Regions from separate parts of the Homo sapiens genome. Here regions 1 and 3 are each linked to region 2. Evidence: promoter capture Hi-C in 16 types of primary human blood cells and fetal thymus (Javierre and others, 2016). All regions are on one chromosome and are shown on one strand. Each heading gives the region's core, a stretch centred on a gene start or on the middle of the fragment in contact. The rest is flanking DNA. Distances are from core to core; before and after follow the strand shown. Region 1 overlaps LOC101927702 (a long non-coding RNA gene). Region 2 holds the start of GTF2A1 (general transcription factor IIA subunit 1). Region 3 overlaps DHRS7 (dehydrogenase/reductase 7).

The links. The method cuts DNA at HindIII sites, captures the fragments that hold promoters and counts their contacts. A CHiCAGO score of 5 or more calls a contact.
Region 1: a fragment that was not itself captured here is called in contact with the fragment with the promoter of GTF2A1 in region 2 in 1 of 17 cell types (total CD4 T cells); the score reaches 10.0 in total CD4 T cells.
Region 3: a fragment that was not itself captured here is called in contact with the fragment with the promoter of GTF2A1 in region 2 in 1 of 17 cell types (activated CD4 T cells); the score reaches 9.1 in activated CD4 T cells.

What each region holds. Positions count from the first base shown.
Region 1 is chr14:60,240,966-60,243,665 of GRCh38, forward strand. LOC101927702 (a long non-coding RNA gene) reads right to left here. Exons shown (of 3, transcript NR_188027.1): 2 at 1,798-1,905. Among named protein-coding and RNA genes, the nearest start is that of PPM1A, 6.9 kb to the right of the region's middle. The HindIII fragment of the contact is 1,366 bases long and covers 734-2,099 here.
Region 2 is chr14:81,219,659-81,222,358 of GRCh38, forward strand. GTF2A1 (general transcription factor IIA subunit 1) reads right to left here and starts at 1,301. Exons shown (of 9, transcript NM_015859.4): 1 at 831-1,301. The coding sequence starts at 860. It overlaps GTF2A1-AS1 (GTF2A1 antisense RNA 1), which reads left to right and starts at 1,560. Exons shown (of 2, transcript NR_135252.1): 1 at 1,560-1,867; 2 at 1,981-2,700. RefSeq lists enhancers at 1-23, 6-95 and silencers at 436-555, 1,086-1,135, 1,166-1,465. The HindIII fragment of the contact is 3,079 bases long and covers 1-2,294 here.
Region 3 is chr14:60,152,107-60,154,953 of GRCh38, forward strand. DHRS7 (dehydrogenase/reductase 7) reads right to left here. Exons shown (of 7, transcript NM_016029.4): 3 at 1,853-1,959; 4 at 833-1,072. Among named protein-coding and RNA genes, the nearest start is that of DHRS7, 12 kb to the right of the region's middle. The HindIII fragment of the contact is 2,174 bases long and covers 218-2,391 here.

The sequences.
Region 1 (2,700 bases), core at 167-2,666, about 21 Mb before region 2:
CCATGGACATGCGGTGGGGGTGGAGGTGTTGATGGATATTGTCTTGGCTTTTGCCTTATGTGGGATTTTTAAGAAATGTGCAGGAAAAAAAAAACAGGAAAGTGTATTAGGAGAAGGCAGGATAGAAGTTTTCCTCACGTGGAGAGAGCAGGAGAATGGAGGAAGTGACTGCTGGAAGCAAAACTCTAAGAAAAAACCAATTTTACTTGGAGCTTAAAAAAGATTTTGCTGTGTAATGTGCATTGTAACTCTTCTCCCATCTCCCCAAGGCATCTTTGGTAAAGATGTCATTGTTGGGCTTTTTGTTTTCCATGGCACAATGCACTGAAAGGGCCTCAAGGGGAAAGCAAGTCATCTCTGGAAAGCTTAGCCAGAATTTGCAACAGAAAGAGTGGGAATTTTGGAATCAGGTCCTAGGCTTGCAAAAGAGCTCTTTTTCACAGCCTTAGCTTCCTCCTTTGTAAAATGGAAAAAAAAATAGTTTCTTTTTTGCAAAGTTGTTGTGAGAATTAAATAACACTCATGAGGGGCATTGTATGGAGCTTGGCACATTCTAGGCCCTCTTTTTATATTGAACTAATATGATCTTCTCTGTAATTCCCATGAATTAATTCCAGTTCTATTTTGCAAAACATTGATTCTTTAACCTTTTTCATGTAATGGTGCTCCAGTTTGTCTAGATCCTTCAAGAAGAGAAAATGCATATCAACATCTTTGTATCTAGTTGCTCTCAAGCTTAAAATGATGTCATTTTTCAATTATTGCTTTTATTATACAGTAAAAACATATTTAGAAGAGACTCAAGATAAATATTAAAAGTTAAGCTAGTTACTGAACAAATTTCTTAAATATTTACGAAAAATAAGATCAACACACATTTGACCATGGCAGCTTTTCTAAAGGCAAAGGATCTAATTTGGTGATTAACTAACCATATTGAGCACTCATTAGGTGTCAGGGATGTACCAGTTCTTCTACTGTATTTGGGTGTTTTTAATTATGAATAACCAAATACAAAAATCAAAGTAGTTTAAACAATGAGGAGCATTTATTATCACTCTTAAAAATAAATTCCCAAGGTGGGCAATTGCACGGATGGCTCAATGGCTTTACAATGTGAAAGATCCAGCCACTTGCTATCAATTCTTTTCTCTACATTGCCTTGGTTCTTTGCAAGATAACCTTGAAATTCCAGGCTCACATATAGAAATAACAACATATGGCTGAGGAAGGCATTTTCTCTCCTGTGATTCTTCTTATTAGGGAAGAAAACCTCTCTACCCCCTCAAGACTTCTCAATTTCCTTTATCCAGAATTGGGCTACCTCACTATGTCCCCAGGCAGTGCTTCTCAATTTTTTCACACCATGACACAAATACAAAGATAACGTTTTTGTGACACAGAGGGGTACCTGGGTAATGTTGCTTGTGGCCAGTCATACCATCCCAGGGCTTCAGCAGCTCAGCCTCACTTGAATGTCCCAAGGGCTTAAGGGATCCATACCTTATCACATCTATGACCCATCTGAGACATACCAGGGTATGCTGGCACATAGATTGGTATGCTCTGCTCTAAGCTACAAGGGAGGGTGAGAGAGCATGCATCCATATACATGCTCTAGTGAGAGAAGGATCTGCCAACGAGGAGGCTCTGCCAAGTAGTAGGAAGTGGTGGGGCAACCAACCGCATCAGTCATCTTTTCAAGGGTGCCTTCATCTATTCTAATTTTCACAACACATTTTAGGAGGAAGTATTCTGTGGAGGATAAAACCAAGGCTTATAATTTAAATGACTTGCCTGAGGTCACAGAACCAGTGAGTGGTTCAATTGACACAGCAGATGCAGATCCAGGTGTGTGCTGGGAAATGTTTAACAACCACCTTTCCAAATGTAGTTCCAACATGGCTATTGGTTAATATTTTCATTTAAGATAAAAATAAAACAACAAAAATGTATGTTAGAGCTTATTAGTCAATGATGTGACTTCATTGCTAAATTGAATGTTTTTATGCTATTCACCATGTAACAGTTATAGACACGACATGTCTTTTACATTTAATCTGCATAAAACATTTTCTCTGTCACTTAAGCCTAGACCAAGCTTGTCCAACCCTGGGCCTGTGGGCCGCATACAGCCCAGGATGGCTTTGAATGCAGCCCAACACAAATTCGTAAACTTTCTTAAAATGTGAGATTTTGTGTGTGTGTGTGATTTTGTTTCGTTTTGTTTTGTATTAGCTCATCAGCTATCATTAGTGTTAGCGTATTTTATGTGTGGCCCAAGACTATTTTTCTTCTGCCAATGTGGCCGAGGGAAGCAAAAGATTGGACAACCCTGGTCTAGCCCACAACCAGCAAAGCAATAAGTGAAGCCCTCATCTGTGGTGTCCGCTGATCAAGCTACCAAAGAAAACTCACTAAATGTGGTATTGGGAAGAGATGTACAATTACATATAGGGAATTTCCACCATGCAGACACAATGCATGTAAATTGCCTAAAGAACAAAGACAATATTAAAATGTATTAACATAATTTGGAAGTGATGTTTTTATCACATACTACCTTTGTTTAAAATTTATTTCATTGGAAGTTTATCTAACTTAATTTTTATTTCTATTTTTATATTTATTTATTGATTGATTTTTGAGATGGAGTCTCACCTTGTCACCCAGGCTGGAGTGCAATGGCGCAATCTCAGC
Region 2 (2,700 bases), core at 51-2,550:
GGTGGACTAGTGATCACACTGCGTTGGTGACTGAAAAGGTTATTTATGTGACTGCTTTTTGCAAACCTACGTGATCGCAAGTAACAAAAAGGGACCAACGGGAAGAAGTAGGTAAATTTCAAGGCGAAAGCGGGGACACTTGGACCACTGCAGGCTTTTTTTGTTTGTTTTGGTGCTTCTGCTAGGCGAAGATACGATGGGGGTCTTCCCCTTCGCCATTTTACCCATTCGGAAGGAACTGAGATAAGTGCTTTTCAACCAACCTTCGTCCTTTTTTTAAACATAAAATGGCCTCAGAGAAGGTTCCCAAAGCACAGCCGCCAAAAACAACCTAAGAAACCCCCAAAGTAACCATTAATCTTCCACTGCATTAAAGTGGATCACGATGGGTCTCGGGGGTTCGCCCGATTCCCCACACACAGTTTTTGTTCTGTAGCCACTCGGGGAGCCCTCGTCAAGCCAGCGCGGACGGGCCCCTCGGGGGGAAGCGGCGGCTCCCCTCCCGCCCTCCCTCCCGGCGGCCGGGTTCTGGGGCCGGGGCTGCGCGCCCGACCGGGCCCAACCGCCTCCGCGGCCCGGCCCGGCCCGCGGCGGCCCCAGGCCCCACCGGCGCCCCCGCCCTCCCCGCGCCGCGAGCCCTCGGCGCCCCCCCGCGCCCGCCGCCCGGCGCTCCGGCCCGATCCGCCCGAGGCGGGAAGCGGCGGCGGCGGCGGCCGCGCGGGCGGCTGAAGAGTCGAGGCCGGGAGTCGCCGCCGTCCCCGCCCCCGCCCGGTCCGGCCGTTGCTGCAGCCTGAACGAAGCCCCCGCCGGCCACCGAACCACGTCCTTACCACGGTGTTTGTATTTGCCGAGTTCGCCATTTCCACACACAACACAAACAAGAGGGGGCAACCCCAAGAAAACAAGATAAAAACAAAACCAAAAAAAAAAAAACTATAACACCCGGAGGGTGACCCAAATCACCGCAAGATTGGGGAAAAAATTTTAAACAAAATCAATCCTGAAGGAGTAGGGGAGAGCGGAGAGAGGAGGAGGAGGGGGGCACTCCTCCCGCAGCTGAAAACCTCGAGAATCGCCTTAAAAAAAAAAAAAAAGCCACGACCCTTCAGGGGTCCGGGGGGCGTTGCCCGCTCCCCACCCCGCGCCAAGGAGGGAAACCACCACCGGTCACCGCTCCCTGCGCCGCCGCTGCCGCCACCGGCTGCAGCTCCAGCCGTCCGGTCCGCCCGCTTCTCTCCTTTATATAGCGAGCCAACAAGCTGCGCGAGCCACCACCGCCGCCGCCGCCGCCGCCGAGAGACAGGGTGAAGGGGGAGGGAGGGGCGGAAAGGGCGGGGGCAGAGGTGGGCGGGGCTGAGCGCGAGACACCGCGAGAGCCGCGTGCGCAGGCGCGCCGGGGCGGAGGCCGCCGGCGAGCCGCGTTGTCACGCGCCGTGGCGGGTACTGGACTGGCGGAGCCCGGGGAGTGAAGTAGTGAAATCGGACCTACGCCTCTCCAACGCTCGCGTGATCACGTGGTTGGCACCCAGGCGGAAGTCTGCGGCAGTTCTTTGCGGTGAAGAACTTGCAAAGCGTTGCTGGAAAAGACGGGAGTTCTACTGACACTCCAGTCCAAAGCTAGGTGGGACCGCCTCCTGTCGCACGTTTCCGCCTGGTCCCGCGCTTTAGGAGCTAGGAAATGTGACAGAGGCGGTGCCTACTGCCTCGCTAGGAATGGCCGCGGAGGAGGACTGGTCACGTGGCGTGGCTTCCGGCCTCTGGCGCGTTCCTATTCGGGAAGGTTTTAAATGCGGAGTCATCTCTTGATTTGTCAGCGAGGCTTTGACTGTGAGCTTCGCGGCGTTCGCGCCTCACCGCCTCACCGAGGGTGGGTCTTTCGCGCGCAGAATTGTGTAGGATTTTCCAAAGGGAGTAAAAGCCGATCGGGGCCTACTTTTAACATTCCACAATTAGTAACGTCTGATTCGTTTGTTTCCACAGTGGGTACGCTGCGAAGACTAGGCTTATGTTACCCAGAGGTTAGTCCTCTACTAGGCCACGTACTTTAAATAATTTATCACGCTAGTGGAAATGCGGGGTGGAAGAAAACCCCACCAGCCTTTGGATTGTAACAGCACAGTAACTTTCCCTGGTTTTTAAAAATATTGCCAAAATACTGCGACTCCATGTGGCCAACGTATAGTGACTGATCACTTTGAAATGCATGCCCTTGACCCACCAACTCGCATGGCCTCTCGCTATAAGAGAGCAAGCCGGCTGTGTTCCATGTTCAATTCAATAAGTGCAATTCAATAAGCTTTTGACTTGTTCTGCCCAAGCAAATCCTGCCTTTATATCGACCTTGCAAGCAGAACAGAGAATGCTGTTTGGAAGGCAGAATTCATAGTACCTAGTTTTCTTGTCCCTGGGAATTTTGAGGGACTTGAAATGTCGCGTGGATGAGTGAGGGAGTTTGTCTTCCAGAGACAAAGCAAAACGAAACGTCAAAGTTCTGTGCTGGTGAAACCAGATTTGAAGAATATCAAAGGCGTCTTACCAAAGAGGAAAAAAAATGCATCTTGCCAAGACTTGAAGAAAGGGATTAGAGAAACCAGAGGCCTTGAATACTCAGAAAATGGGAGATTGTGAATGGGTGTAGAGGATATCTATGAACCTTGACATTTCTTTTCACGCCAAGTCCATTCCCCTGTTAACAGTTGC
Region 3 (2,847 bases), core at 55-2,554, about 21 Mb before region 2:
GAAACCATGATGACCATGTAGCTATTGCATCTCATGATTCCAACAGTGAAACATTCTACTTAAACTGACTTCAACAGCTTTAAATATAAATTTTGTGTCTTCCTTAATCATTCTTTTCCTATTGGCCTTATAATTTCTTTATATCCAGTCTTAAGCCACCATTAAAAATTCATCCATTTCTAATATTTATACATCGTAAGTTATGCAGTCCAAATCAAGCTTCTCTCCTTGCCTCTGCCTTGACTAGATTTTCTTCTTCCAATGAAACCAGAGAGAATACAGTCAAGATTTTTCCCAGTAAGGATATGAGACCAGGACTAATCATCCTGTGGGAAGTACCTATTTCTGACATGCATATATAATTAGACCAGGCAAAATAAACACCAACTACAAGGGGCAAGGAAAAGAAGTCACAGAAATGGGGAGGAAAAAGTACATCCTGAAGTGTATGTAGAAGAAAGGAGAAGTGGACCCCCAATTTTCCATGAAGATTTAGTAGGAATAAGGATAAGGTGAAGAGTAACATGTTAAATAGATGATACACTTTTTGAGGGCAGAGACCACATCTTATTATCTTTATATCCCCAGGGTCTGTTGTAGTACATGGCACAATGCAGTGCTTGATACATATTTATTTGTTCAACAAGTTAGAGGCATGTGTGGATCAAGTCTTTTTTAGCATCTACTGGGGGTGTCCTCTACCAAAAGTCTCCTTGGGTCTCTCTGTCTCCCCACATCACTTCCAGTTCCAAGGACCTCACACAGTGATGGCCATATCCCCCATATACACATTTAAGTCAGTTCTATCAGAGTTGAGTTTGAGCAGCCTTACCCGGAGAGCATGCTTGCTAGCACAGTATCCAATGGAAAGAGGTACAGATATGATACCCAGGATGCTATTCACAGTAACAATCTTTCCTTGCTTCCTCTCGATCATGTGAGGCAGAACACATTTTGTCAAGGACACCGTCCCTAAGTAGTTAAGCTCTATTAGCTTTCTGTAGACATCCAAGCTGGTATCCATGCACAGAGAACGCTGGGACATTCCACCATTGTTGACCAGAATGTCGATCTAGTTAAATAAAATCAGAAAAGGGGTGTTTGGGGGATGTCTTGTGGATAGATTGATGGAATTCCTATGGATGGTTGGTTATTTTGTTAACTTAAAGAATCAATGGAACAATGGTATATTTCCAGAAGTCAGCAATTAAAAAGATAAAATAAAGCCCTGAATTTACCTGTGGAATTAAATTCCCGTTTTAGGTGACTTTTTGTGAAAGTTAATAATTGTCATTAAAATAAATAAAAGCAGCCAGCTGGGCACAGTAGCCTGTAATCCCTGCACTTTGGGAGGCTGAGGAGGGTGGACCATGAGGTCAGGAGTTCAAGACCAGCCTGACCAACATGGTGAAACCCCATCTCTACTAAAAAATATAAAAATTAGCTGGGCGTGATGGTGCATGCCTGTAATCCCAGCTACTCAGGAGGCTGAGGCAGGAGAATCCCTTAAACCTGGGAGGCGGAGATTGCAGTGAACCGATATCACACCACTGCACTCCAGCCTGGGCGACAGAGCAAGACTTTGTCTCAAAATACATAAATAAATAAATAAAAGCAGCCGTGAATTTTTAGCTTCTTTTGTTCTACATGGAGGAATTTGTACTTGTTAAGACATGAAAAGTACTAATTCCATAATGACAAAGGCTCAGAGATTAAGGGGCCCAACTCATGGGCCCGATCTCACTGCATGGACCCCACTTGCCTAAAGCCCTTTGTATGACAGCACCACGGATGGGAATCTCTTCTGCAGTTACTTCAAAGCAAGACTATATCAATATAAGATGCTACTTACTCTACCAAACTCCTGGAGAACAGCTTTGGTAGCCGCTTCATGGGAACCAGTGTCGGTCAGGTCAAGGGGCAAAACAAGTATATCTTTTTCTTTTAAATTGCCATTCTCTAAATAAAGACAAAAATTTGTGTGGAAGTCATGCCATAGTTCAGTCAAGCTCCTTGCTACTCCCACTAACACCCACCCTGCAACAGGACTTGGCAACAAACTCATTTCTGGGTGGCCCTGTGAAAGTTCCTCTCGGTGGTCAGGAAGAGGACTAGTGGTTATATCAGACAAAAAGCTGGCTGGCCTCACAGGAAGTAGAATGGCAACTTGAATATGCAGTCTAACTTTACAATTTGATTTCTGATAGAAATCAAGATTATACTACAAACTAGAAAAGAGCAAATATTTTAGAGCAATTTCTTTAGAAGTACAGAGGTACCTTTGTTTTGTGATAGGCTCACAAAGATGAGTTGCTCTTCTACACACAAAACAACTACTTGTGCTTAAAATCAGTAAGAAGCTCAGAGTCCTACAGTCAAATGACATATAGAAGCTTCTCTCCAGAGGCTAAGGATTCCTGGAGGTAAACAGGGAAAAGGACACATGCCTGAAATTCCCAACCAAGAAACATGCTGCTGCTTTGTGATTGGCTTTCTGTTCATCAAAAGAACAACTGAAACTAATTTTCCTGGACTCTAACCTTGAAATACAAGTAACATCAGTAAGAAAAACAAGCAAGTATAGAAAATAGAAGAGGTAAAAAGACTTCATGGGCAAAAGAGTTAAGCGTGAAACATCAACTGTATTAAATGAAAAAGTGGGCACTACAGATCTGCAAGATAAAAGGAAACAGCCTTGTGCCAGGTAAGAAATGCTGACCTGGTTCATCTACTCCACCAGTACAGGACTTGCAAGTCACAGCAGTAGAGGAACAACTATCAAAAGAAGTGGCCCAGTGCAAAAACACAAGAGGCCTTTGAAAGCAGTATCATGAAAGAGGCCTGTTG